Linked DNA regions of Homo sapiens: region 1 is linked to region 2. Evidence: promoter capture Hi-C in human tissues and cell types (Jung and others, 2019). All regions are on one chromosome and are shown on one strand. Each heading gives the region's core, a stretch centred on a gene start or on the middle of the fragment in contact. The rest is flanking DNA. Distances are from core to core; before and after follow the strand shown.

What was found. Contacts are between HindIII fragments. The study calls those that stand out against the background at their distance.
Region 1: a contact is called between the fragment with the promoter of INSC here and the fragment with the promoter of PSMA1 in region 2, in 1 of the 25 tissues and cell types used here (stomach).

What each region holds. Positions count from the first base shown.
Region 1 is chr11:15,110,205-15,116,249 of GRCh38, reverse strand. It overlaps INSC (INSC spindle orientation adaptor protein), which reads right to left and starts at 1,327. Exons shown (of 13, transcript NM_001042536.3): 1 at 1,247-1,327. RefSeq lists enhancers at 1,620-2,153, 2,805-2,854. The HindIII fragment of the contact is 4,237 bases long and covers 1-4,203 here.
Region 2 is chr11:14,515,646-14,521,666 of GRCh38, reverse strand. PSMA1 (proteasome 20S subunit alpha 1) reads left to right here and starts at 1,281. Exons shown (of 10, transcript NM_002786.4): 1 at 1,281-1,370; 2 at 2,626-2,670; 3 at 3,686-3,787; 4 at 3,922-4,025. The coding sequence starts at 1,368. RefSeq lists enhancers at 1,150-1,339, 874-1,488. The HindIII fragment of the contact is 15,381 bases long and covers 1-4,246 here.

The sequences.
Region 1 (6,045 bases), core at 78-2,577, 590 kb before region 2:
CAGCATGGAGCAAATTATATATGCTGAGCTCCATGTCAGATCCCAGCCTGACCTGGCTTGCCTTCCAAAGGCAGTGTTTGGAAGTTTTCACTTCTAAAAGGGCGAACAGTGCTTCTAAGTCCCAGAGCTAAAGGGACAAGATGCTCTCTGGCTGAGCTCCATGGACAGCCTCAGTTTCAGATTCAATGGAACCCCTCAAAGGCACCACATCACCATCTGCCCTGACCCCCACAGCCAAAGTCCCTGACTTAAAATATTCCCCACTGAGGCCAGTTTCTTGGACCCATTGTCAGAGGTATAATATATAGATTAAAAGGGGCAAAAGTGGGAGGAGGCTAGCGGCTGAGGGTGGGGCCACACCAGGGATACATTTGCGCATATGCATTGAACAAAGTGGGTGCATGTTGCATACATGTCGTTGTCCACAGGTATACATGTTGAAAGTGTGAATGGTTGCATGGCTATCCTGAGAAGAGTGTGTGCAAGACTGGTGCACATGGACAGGAATGTGTGTATGCTGAGCATGTAAGCGTGGGTGCACTGCGAGTGTTTGTGGGTGGCCATGGCCATATGGTCCACTCATCCCCTGGCCTCCTGTCTCTTCTCCTGGTTTAAGAGTGGGGTCTCCCAAGCTGTCTCCCTGACCCTGGTCTAGCCAGATGGGGTTAGTCAGAGCCACATTCACTCCAGTGTTGTGTGAGGGCTCTGAGCTTCTGTCCTTCTCCAAGCCCTGAGAAACCAAAGCTGAATGACCCACAGAGAAGACACCCCAGCTGGGACAAGTCAGGTCACCTTAGAAAGCCTGAGTTCAGATAACACTCCCTAGCCCCAATTTCTGCCTTCCTGGGTTCACACTGGCACATCCACTCATCCACATGTGGACTGGCTCAGCCCACCTGGGGGCCTTCCTGCCACACACACAGGCATTTCCACAGGTACAGACACAGTGCACCCAGGGCAGCAGGTGCCACACAGGCAAATACCTGTGGCCCACTCCAGGCCACCACACACTCTGACACACTCGTTCACCCACACTCGCACCCTGGGGCACATGCTAGAAAATTCCACATGTGGACATCCCATCCAGACACACTCCCTCACACTGGCGCAAGCTCCCCTTCACAAGCACTCCCACTGACACACTTACACCTACTATCCAATTAGTGACAAACCTGCACTGTTCCCAACTAGGCTAGCAGAGGCATCACCAGCCCCCTGAATCCAGCTAGGGGAGCTGTCTACTTACTTAGCGTGCGAGACAGGCTGGTAGTGCGAGCGGCCAGTGGTGGCGGGGCGCAGCTGGAGCTCCAGAGGCCGCGCGCAAAGTGGCCGCTCTGCCGGCCCAGCCCGAGAGGCCGCCCCTGGCCCCCGCCCCACCCCCCGCCCCGTTCTCCCCCGCCCGCCCTCTCCGAGGCGGTCGCAGCCTCCCAAGGACCTTCCACAGCAGCGCGCTCCCTGCCAAGCCTTGGTCCCGCGTCAGCCACGGCTGCCTGCTGTCTCCGCGGGACTACGAGGCTATTTCGGTGCCCCTGGGGGGGGAAACATGGCCCTCCCTCCCATCTGCAGGAGCGCTGGAATGGGGACGCGGTCAGGCCTAATTAGAGACCGGGCTCCCCCGGGCCAGGCGGCAGGCACCAGGGTGATCGCCCGGGAGCCGCGAAGCCGTCCAGGCGGGGTCGCCCACAAGGTGCCCCGCATGCCAACATCTGGAGAGGGGAAGGGAATGTGCCGCGATCGTTTCCCTTGGAGCTGAAACAAAACAAGGAGGGATTTGGGTGCAGTTCACTTGCTAGGAAGGAGGAAGCCACCCAGCTTTGATAGACCCCAAACGCCTAGAATGAGACGGTTTATTCACCGCAGGTGCTTCCCTCTGGAACCTTGCTCACACACACCTAAGTCACCCTCCACATCTTGGACCTGCCAAAAATGACGAGGGGTTGTTGCAGAAACTCCTTCTAACTTCGGCACATAAGATCAGACCCCACCCCCCACCCCCCACCCCCGTCCTGGACTCTGTCAAATAGCTAAATCTAGAGGAACTTGATTCCTACCCAAAAGCTCGGGAATGTGGCATTTTTGACCTGGAAGAAAGCTTCCAGATCATTTCATACAACTCCCCCTCCCCCGCCTCCGCCATCTTGCTATGAGGCTCCCAGAGCCCAGAGAATCTTGACCTATTCTTGGAGGTCCTCAAGCAAAGGCAGCCCCTGGTCTCCCTTGAGCCCTGTTCCAAAGCTTGAACTCTCTTACTGACAGAAAGATCTCCTTGACATCTAACCTAAATCTCTCACATGCAAACTATGTCAATTTGCTCACAATATGTATTCAGGGAGAAGGAGCTCAACTCAGTCCCCATGACAAAACGACCACGCCGAGGTCCCACTGCAGCCTTCTCTTCCTTAATGCTAATAATCTCTATTTCTTTTTTCAGGCTCTGGCTGAAGCTAACTGCTGCTCCCTGGACTCGAACACACACAGTAGCTCTCTGATATTAACTCTCCTCCTCAGCTCTCTGGGGGCCCAGGGCTCAGAAGGTGGCCAAATCATTCCTCTCAGACAAGCCAGCTTCAACTCTACCCTCCAGTCATCCAGAACAGCCTGATTCTACTCCCCAAGTTCCCTGAGAGGGGCCTCAGTTCCTGTTTCAACAAGTGCTGTCTAGGGCTGGGGACAGGGCTTGGTGCCGCCTGGCTGGGCATTACCACTGAAACCACAGTCTTACAGACTGTTTGCAGAATCTTCTCTCTGAGTCTGTTTCCGGTAGGGCAGGTGGTATGATAAGAATAGTCTCAGCCGGGAGTGGTGGCTCACGCCTGTAATCCCAGCTCTTTGGGAGGCCAAGGTGGATAGATCACAAAGTCCGGAGATTAAGTCCATCCTGGCCGACATGGTGAAACCCCATCTCTACTAATAATACAAAAATTAACTGGGCGAGTTGTCATGTGCCTGTTACCCCAGCTACTCAGGAGGCTGAGGCAAGAGAATAGCTTGAACCAATGAGTCGGAGGTTGCAGTGAGCCAGTGAGCCAAGATTGTGCCACTGCACATCAGCCTGGCAACAGAGTGAGATTGCATCAAAAAAGAAAGAGAGAGAGAGAGAGACAGAAAGAAAGAAAGAAAGAAAGAAAGAGAGAGAGAGAAAAGAAAGAAAGAGGAAGGAAGGAAGAAAGGAAGGGAGGGAAGAGAGGGAAGGAAAGGAAGGGAAGGAAAGAAGTCTCCAATTCTTCCTCAAAGAAACCTGTTTTGCATCCTGCCTCTACTACTTTCTAGTGATGAGTCCTTGGACAAATCACTTAACCTCTCTGAGCATCAGTTTTCCCATATGTACATTGGGGAACATAAAAATCTCTGCCCAGCTCATGAGGTTGTTGAAAGTATGAAGTGAGGTCAAGGATGTAAAGCACCTGGAAAACTAAGATATTTTATTATATGCTAGAAATAGAATGAGGCTTAGATCATAAACAGATCGATGTTAGCAAAAAAGCCTCAAAGTTCTTTTATTTCCAGGCCCAAACTCTGTGTCTGGGTTTCAGGGTAAGAGAGGAACAGACTTGGTTTGTTAGATGTTCCCTGGAGGCACTTGGCATAAATGCCCCCCCCCCACTTCCCAATACACACACACACACACACACACACACACACACACACACACACACACTCACATCCACCTTCCCAGATACATACGGCACAGCACAGCCTCCTGGACTCCTGGACTCCCCATAGACCCCAGCCACCTGGACCTTCGCTGGCCGCCTCTCCATTGCCAGGGGGCCGTCTCATGGCTCCAGCCTTGGCTGCAGCGACTCCAAGTCTCCTTACAGAGGCCCCTGTGAACAGCTTCTTTCCCTTTGCCCACCCTTCTGGGCCATGGCCCTGAGAAGGCCTGTGACTCAAGGCAAAGCTTGTCCAAGGCAGTTCAGTACTGAGGCTGCCCAAGGGAGCTCAGAGTTGAAGCTTCCTCCCCCTCGACCCCCTCCCCTCTGTCTGCCTGACTTCTCAATGCTGTGCTGTCCTGCTTAATTCTTAATGGAAATTCCATCCCCGGCGCCGGCCCTAGCTGGCTCAGGGAGTCCAGGCTTGGGCCAACAGCAAACTCCACCAGAGAGACTGGGCCTGTCTGGCTATATAAACACACCTAAACACATATATACATGTGTGTATACACACACCAGCAGCAAGACATGCTCAGAGACATTTACAAACTCAGATATTCTCATCCAGACACATCCAGACACAAAGATAATATACATTCTAATCATTAACATTTATTGCATATACGAGAACTTCATAGGTATCAATTGCTCTAATCCTTAGAACAGTACTAGGTTCTGGTATTATCCCTATTTTACACATGAAGAAACTGAGGCCCAGGGAGGGCCTCAGTAAGTAACTTACCCAAGACATTGATAATAACAGCCTAACACATGAGCACCAGGAACTGTGCTAAGAAGCTTATGTGCATGTTTCATTTTGCTGCCATAGTAACCTTTTATAAAAGTTATTATTATCCCCATAATACAGACACAGAAAAGGGAGGCCAGGTGGTTTAAATCACCTGTCTGTGGCCTCACAGCTGGTGAGATGGAGACTCTACACAAATACACATGGGAATCCTTATGGATGCACAGAAAGACACACAGGTAAAGACACATGCACATGCTCAGAGGTGTACCCACAAATAGCTTATTTCACCTAAACCAAAGTAGGCGCCTCAGGACTGGTCCAGAGCTGTATCAGGCAAAGGTCCCCTCCAGCCTGACTCCACATTCTTCTCCTGTCCAGATGGCCTATCCCAGATCCACCAGCTTCACACATCACTTTAGGAAGGACAAGTTCAGACCTAAATGGAGGAAAGACTTCAGGTTTACACTGCAGTCTGCCAGGTTCATAGTCAACCCCCAGCCTCAGCTCCAAATTGTTCCCCCAGTATTCCCTAGATAGTCACTGAAAGAAGCCTCAGCTACACTCTTCTGAAGGGATCGCACTTCCAAGGAGGGAGCACCTCCGAGGCTCTGAGCACTGACCAGCCTCCAATGCTAGGATCCTGTCCTTCAGGCCCAGATGAATATAAACAGGGCCCTTGGGACAAGGCCTGGCACAGGAGCCCAAGCATTGGGTAGAGCAGAGCACGTGTTGCCCGAGGGAGTTGAAGTTATACTGTAGGAAGATGGCAAAACCCTGGTGGAACGAGAGGAGACAGGGATTGGGGCCAGGCCACTCCACCCTCTCCTGCATTTGTTCCACCACATACTTCTTGTGGCTTATTGGCCACGTAGGGGAGGGCAGAAAAGTCCTTTTCCTTTTGGGACAGGCAATGAAGTCCTGAGTCCAGAGAGTTGAGAGGACAGACATGCAGGAGAGATCCAAAGAGTTCAGTCCGCCAGGAGCTTATCCACTGCTTGAAGTTGCCATGCTATGCTAGGTATCTCCAAGGGGCAGGATGTGTGCTGGCCTCAGGCCTCCTTCTAAGCAGCCACAATAGAAAGTGCCTAAGAAGGCCTGTTATAGCCAGGGTAGTCTCTATTGTCTCTTGTGATTTCCCCTATCCCCAACCCAGAATTCCCCAACTGTTTCTGTTGTCACAAGCTCATCCACCCTGTAGTCAGAGAACATAGCCCAGCATGGCAGTCCCATGGGGCACCAGCATTGGAAGAGTTTTTTGAGGGAGGAGTGCTTAATCTCCACAAATGAATAAGGAATCATGGTGATTCAGGCAATAGCTCTAAGATGGGGAGATATTCTGAGCTGAAGAATTTGCATTTCTAAAAAGTTCCCAGGTGATGTTGATACTACTGATCTGGAGATCATGCTTTGAGAACCACTACTCTCTAGAATAAGAGAAAGTCAGGGATGATTCCAGTTCAAAACTAAATTTCCAACCTAATTACAGCATAAAGATGATCTCTTCTGAAAGCTCCTTAAATGTACAATCCTGGGCCAGGAGCAGCGGCTGACACCAGTAATCCCAGTACCACTTTGGGAGGCTGAGGTGGGAGGATAAGTGGAAGCTAAAAGTTCAAGACCAGCCTAAACAACAAAGCTATA
Region 2 (6,021 bases), core at 32-2,531:
AGCCTCCTGAGGCACGCCACCACGCCCGGCTAATTTTTGTATTTTTAGTAGAGACGGGGTTTTACCATGTTGGCCAGGATGGTCCGATCTCCTGACCTCGTGATCCACCCGCCTCTGCCTTCCAAAGTGTTGGGATTACAAGCGTGAGCCACCGCGCCCGGCTTTTTTTTTTTTTGAAACAGAATCTCTATTGCCCAGGCGGGCTGGAGTGCAACGGCGCGACCATGGCTCACTGCAACCTCGATCTCCCTGGCTCAAGAGATCCTCCCACATCAGCTTCCCGAGTGGCTGGGACCACAGGCCCATGCCAACATGCCCAGCCTTTTTTTTTTATTATTCTTATTCTTATTCTTATTCTTATTATTATTGTAGCGACGAGGTCCCACTGTATTAAAATAATATAGTGATCTCAAACTCCTGGGTTCAAGCGATCCTCCGCCCTCGGCCTCCAATAGCGCTGGGATTACAGGCGTGAGCCACCACACCCAGTCTCTTTTTTACAAAGAATATAAATAGCCGGTGGATGTCAGACTATTTCGTTATGGAAAGATGCTCTCAAAAGACGAAATAGATAAATCGAAAGAAAGTGTCCATTTTTTCTCAGTGGCCTAATCTGTCAGGTACCATGCTTGGTTTTGGGGGCATAGAAAGACATTAGCGCCCTCATGGAGTTCAAAGTCTGGTGGAAGAAATCAATCATAATAACAATGAGGGGTTAACGACAACAGACCCTTGAAAGATAACATCTCCAGGGAATAAGGAAGAGCATTCCAAAGTATTTTGCCAAATGGCAAAAACCGCAGTTACTTTTGCACCAACCTTAATGCAAATAAAAGCATGTACACAAACAAGATACTCGAGGAAGAATACAGCTGACACACAGAAACGGATCGTTATCTTGTGGCTTTCCTGCAGCCTCGTTCCTTTCAGTCACATAACACCCCAAATCTGTGGACGGTTAATGAGAGCTAGTATCACCCAGAGTCACGGCTGTTGACTCGGACGACTTTAGATGCAGCCCGCCAGCGGGAGAAACTGGAGGGAATCCGCCATACACAGGAACCTAGAAGGGCTACGTGACAGGGGCTGCCCCGCAGCTCTCAGCCGCCGGCACTCCCAGCCAGGTTTTCCCGCCAGTCTCAGTTCCTAGATCTTCCGAGGCTCCGCCCGCCGCCGAGCGGTCGGAAAGTTTTAAGGAGGGGGAAGTGTTGCAAGCCTATCGATATCTCTGGAATAGACTGCGCTACCCTGCGCCGCCGCCGTCAAACTCCCGCAGACTTCTCTGTAGATCGCTGAGCGATACTTTCGGCAGCACCTCCTTGATTCTCAGTTTTGCTGGAGGCCGCAACCAGGCCCGCGCCGCCACCATGGTACGTTGAATCCCGATCTCTGGAAGGTTTAGGGCAGAGCTCTGGTGACTGGGGGATGACGAGCCACCTCTCCTGTCATCCTTAGCGTCGCCCGGTGCCACGAGGTATGAGAGCCTCGGCAGACGGCCGGGCTCCGGCAGTGATTCAGCATCTCCGGCCTGGCCGGGCTAGGGGTTATCGGTAGCCAGTGCGGCCTTTCCACCGCTTTCGCTTCCCGGGGAGCCTCCGACACTTCCTCCTCGGTCAGCTAGATGAGTTCGCCCCTCAGGTTCCTTCAGTGGAGTAGATTCTGAGCGGTCCAGAATAGCTCCTAGTGCTGTGTATGGGAGAGGAGAAGACAGAGACTTGACTTGGAGGCCTACCTGTACCACCAGTGCGGACTTGACCCCCAGGTTTGTGTTCCTGGACAGCGTCCGTTTTCCTGGTGGGTCCGTCTATTTATCTCTCGCCTAGACTTCGATTAGAAGAGGCCCTTTTCAATCATTTTGTCCAGTCACCTAGTTGCGGATGAGTAAGCCGAGGCTGAGAGGGGAAGTGATGGAATCAGGGTTACAATATAGGGTTCTGGGTTTCCAGTTCTGTCTGCCATTCTAGCACTCAATCTCACTCCCATGACTATTATTATAATAGTCGTAATAGCCGTAATGGTTCTATCGCTGCAGCTATTTGTGTCCACCTCTAACTTTGTGAGGACATTTTTGTTCATTCAATGTGAATATACAGACAGCACTTGTACAGGCATAACTACAGTGAACATTAAAAAATAAGTCATACATGTCCCTAATCATAAAAACAGAAAGGGACGTTTAGATAAAGAGCTGTGGGAGTATATGTTAGGGGGATTTGGGAAGAAAAGGAGAAGACTTCAAGAAATCGACATTTAAGCTACCTTAAAGAAAAGGAAGACTTTTAACCATTTATTAGGGCCCAATAAAAGGGAGCAGCATAAGCAAAAATAGGCAAGAAAGTTGATTGTGAACTTTAGTAATTGAGCCTAAAGGGGTTGATATGGAGGGTGTTAGAATAAGAGTTTGGAAAAATAGGACCCATTTAGATCTGCTTCTCCCTCTCCCACGAGTTTATGGTAAATGTAGAATTGGCTTACATCTGAGTACAGTAGTAATCTTCCAGTAAGACTGCATGAACAGAGTGCCTTAACATTGAATGGAAATACAAGCATATTTCTTAATGAATGTTAAGAGTTGGGATTTGAAATGTTCTTCTATTAACAGGTATTTTTTTCTTTTACTTTTAGTTTCGAAATCAGTATGACAATGATGTCACTGTTTGGAGCCCCCAGGTAAAATAATGTTTTTAAACCTTTTCTGTGAAGTGGCTTTTTGTGGCTGCAATATATTTAGAAACTTGTGAGAGCGTAGGCTTGGGGAAAATGGAATATAATTATTTTAGACGTTCTTGGAAGTTGCATTTATAATTAAAATAGGTTTCCTGATGGACCTAGAGGACATTATGTTAAGTGAAATAAGCCAGAAACAGAAAGAAAAATGTTTCATGCTCTCACTTATATGTGGAATCTTTTGTTTAAAAGGGCAAATATATATATAGAGAGAGTAAAACAGTGGTTACCAGGGTAGGGGGTGGCAGTGGGGAGGAAAAAAGAGGAGATACAAAGTAGCAAATATGTAGGTTGAGCAAGTGGAAAGATCTAATGTACAACATGAAGACTACAGTTAATAATGCAGGTAGTGTTTTGTATTCAAGATTTTTGTTAAATGAGTAGTTTATAGCCCTTGCCACAGCAGAGGAAAATGGGTAACTATGTGAGACAACGGATGTGTTCATTCTGCGATAGTGACCCTACTATATATGTGTATCTTATAACATCATGTTGCATACGTTAAATATACACAAGAAAATTTATTTTAAAAGAAGCTTTCAGCCGGGTGCAGTGGCTCATGCCTGTAATCCCAGCACTTTGGGAGGCCAAGGAAGGTAGATTGCTTGAGTCTTGGAGTTCAAGACCACCCTGAACAACATGAAACCCGGACTCTACAAGAAATACAAAAATTAGCTGGGCGTGGTGGTGCTTGCCTATAGTCCCAGCTACTGTGGACAGTGAGGTGAGAGGACTGCTTGAGCCTAGGAGGCAGAGGTTGTACTGAGCTGAAGATTGTGCCACTGCACTCCAGCCTGGGTGACAGAGTGAGAACCTGTCTCAAAAAAAAAAAAAGGTCTCTTGATTAAAAAAAAAATCAGTTGAGATTTAACTGTGCTCACCTGATATTTGAAAACCCTAATTTTTAATTTATAAAAGATCTTCTAAGATGTGTGTTTTTTGTTTTTTTTTTCTTTAGGGCAGGATTCATCAAATTGAATATGCAATGGAAGCTGTTAAACAAGGTTCAGCCACAGTTGGTCTGAAATCAAAAACTCATGCAGTTTTGGTTGCATTGAAAGTAAGTACAGTAATAAATATGTCTTCCTCTGTAGAAAACAATGTAAATTTCACCATAGAAAATAAGGTTGTAAACTTATTTTTACATTTGTCTCTTTTTTTTTTTTTTTTACATCTTATAATGTCTCTATTTAGAGGGCGCAATCAGAGCTTGCAGCTCATCAGAAAAAAATTCTCCATGTTGACAACCATATTGGTATCTCAATTGCGGGGCTTACTGCTGATGCTAGACTGTTATGGTAAGTATAATCATGAAAAATAAACATCCTTTTTGTTTCATAATTGATTAGTTTTCTCAAAAAGATCCAGATAAGGTATTTTAGGAAGTTGTCTGCCAAAGTTCTTGTAAATTAAGATTATGAATACCTTGGTGGTTTTGAGTTTGTTATTAAATTTTCCATTTTTTGATCCCTGTAGGAGTAACTAATAAGATTAAACATTAGCACTTTTCAGAAGTCACTGAGTAATGTGATGTTTGTTAATACAATGTATATCGTTTGAGACCCTGTTATGTCTAAGAAGAACGTGATACTTTTGTCTGGTTTCTAAGGACAAGCTGAACCACACTTGTTTTCTTTGTGCTTGTTTTCTTCAATACATCAGTATTTATTAGACATTTATTTTTTGCAATGCTCAATACTGGATACTGCAGGGTATACATAAGTGACTCAGACATGGATCTTGTCTTAAGGGAACTTGAAGGCAAGTTTATCTATAAACTCAAATGTAGTTTATCTATAATATAACAGAAAAATTTCTGTGAGAGTCTAGAAGAGACAGATTATTTATGGTTAAAAGGCAATACATAAATGAAGAGATAGGGCTTTGAAATTGCACATATTGAGTTCTCACCTTCACCACTTAGTATCTGAGATTTGGCTAAATACCTAAACACTGAATTTTTTCCAGTGTTTTCTTTATCAAGGCTATTTTTAAATGTTATTTATTTATTTTTTTGAGATGGAGTCTCACTCTCACCCAGGCTGGAGTGCAGTGGTGTGATCTCAGCTCACTGCAACCTCTACCTCCCAGGTTCAAGCGATTCTCCTGCCTCAGCCTCCCGAGTAGCTGGGATTACAGGCACCCGCCACCACGCCTGGCTAATTTTTGTATTTTTAGTAGAGACGGGGTTTCGCCATGTTGGCCAGGCTAGTCTTGAACTCCTGACCTCAGGTAATCTGCCCACCTCAGCCTCCCAAAGTGCTGGGATTATAGGTGTGAGCCACTGCACCCAGCCTATTTTTAAATATTTTAAATTGCCTACTGTAAACCACTAACACAGAGCCTTTCAGGTATTATGTGAGTATGTGTGTTGTGGATGGCAGGTAGTTAGCTAAAACTAATCTTGTAAATTTGTGATTTGATTAGGAAAGAAAGAATATAAATTATAAGGGTGGGCCTGGCACAGTGGCTCCTACCTATAATTCTAGCTCTTTGAGAAGCTTAAGGTCAAGAATTTGAGACCAGGGCAACATAGTGAATCCCCATCTCTACAAAAAATTTTAAAACTTAGCTGGGTGTGGTGGCACACACCTGTTGTCCTAGCTACTCAAAAGGCTGAGGTGGGAGGATTGCTTGAGCCTAGGATTTCAAGGTTGCAGTGAGCTATGATAGTGCCACTGTACTCTAGCGTAGGCAACAGAGTGAGACCCTATTCTTTTTTTTTTTTTTGAGACGGAGTCTCGCGCTGTCGCCCAGGCTAGAGTGCAGTGGTATGATCTCGGCTCACTGCAACCTCCGCCTCCAGAGTTCAAGGAATTCTTCTGCCTCAGCCTCCCGAGTAGCTGGGACTACAAGCATGTGCCACCACACCCGGCTAATTTTTGCATTTTTAGTAGAGACGAGGTTTCACCATATTGGCCAGGCTGGTCTAGAGCTCCTGACCTCGTGATCCACCTGCCTCGGCCTCCCAAAGTGCTGGGATTACAGGCGTGAGCCACAGCACCTAGCCGAGTGAGACCCTATTCTTAAAACAACAGCAGCAGCAAAAACAGTGTAAATAGTAATGCTATGGTTTAAGAATTTCAGGCTGAGCATGGTGTCTCATGCCTGTAATCCCAGCACTCTGGGAGGCTGAAGCGGGTGGATCACCTGAGGTCCGGAGTTCAAGACCAGCCTGGCCAACATGGTGAAACCCTGTCTCTACTAAAAATAAAAAAATTAGCTGAACGTGGTGGCAGGCACCTGTAATCCCAGCTACTTGGGAGGCTGAGGCAAGAGAATCGCTTGAACCCA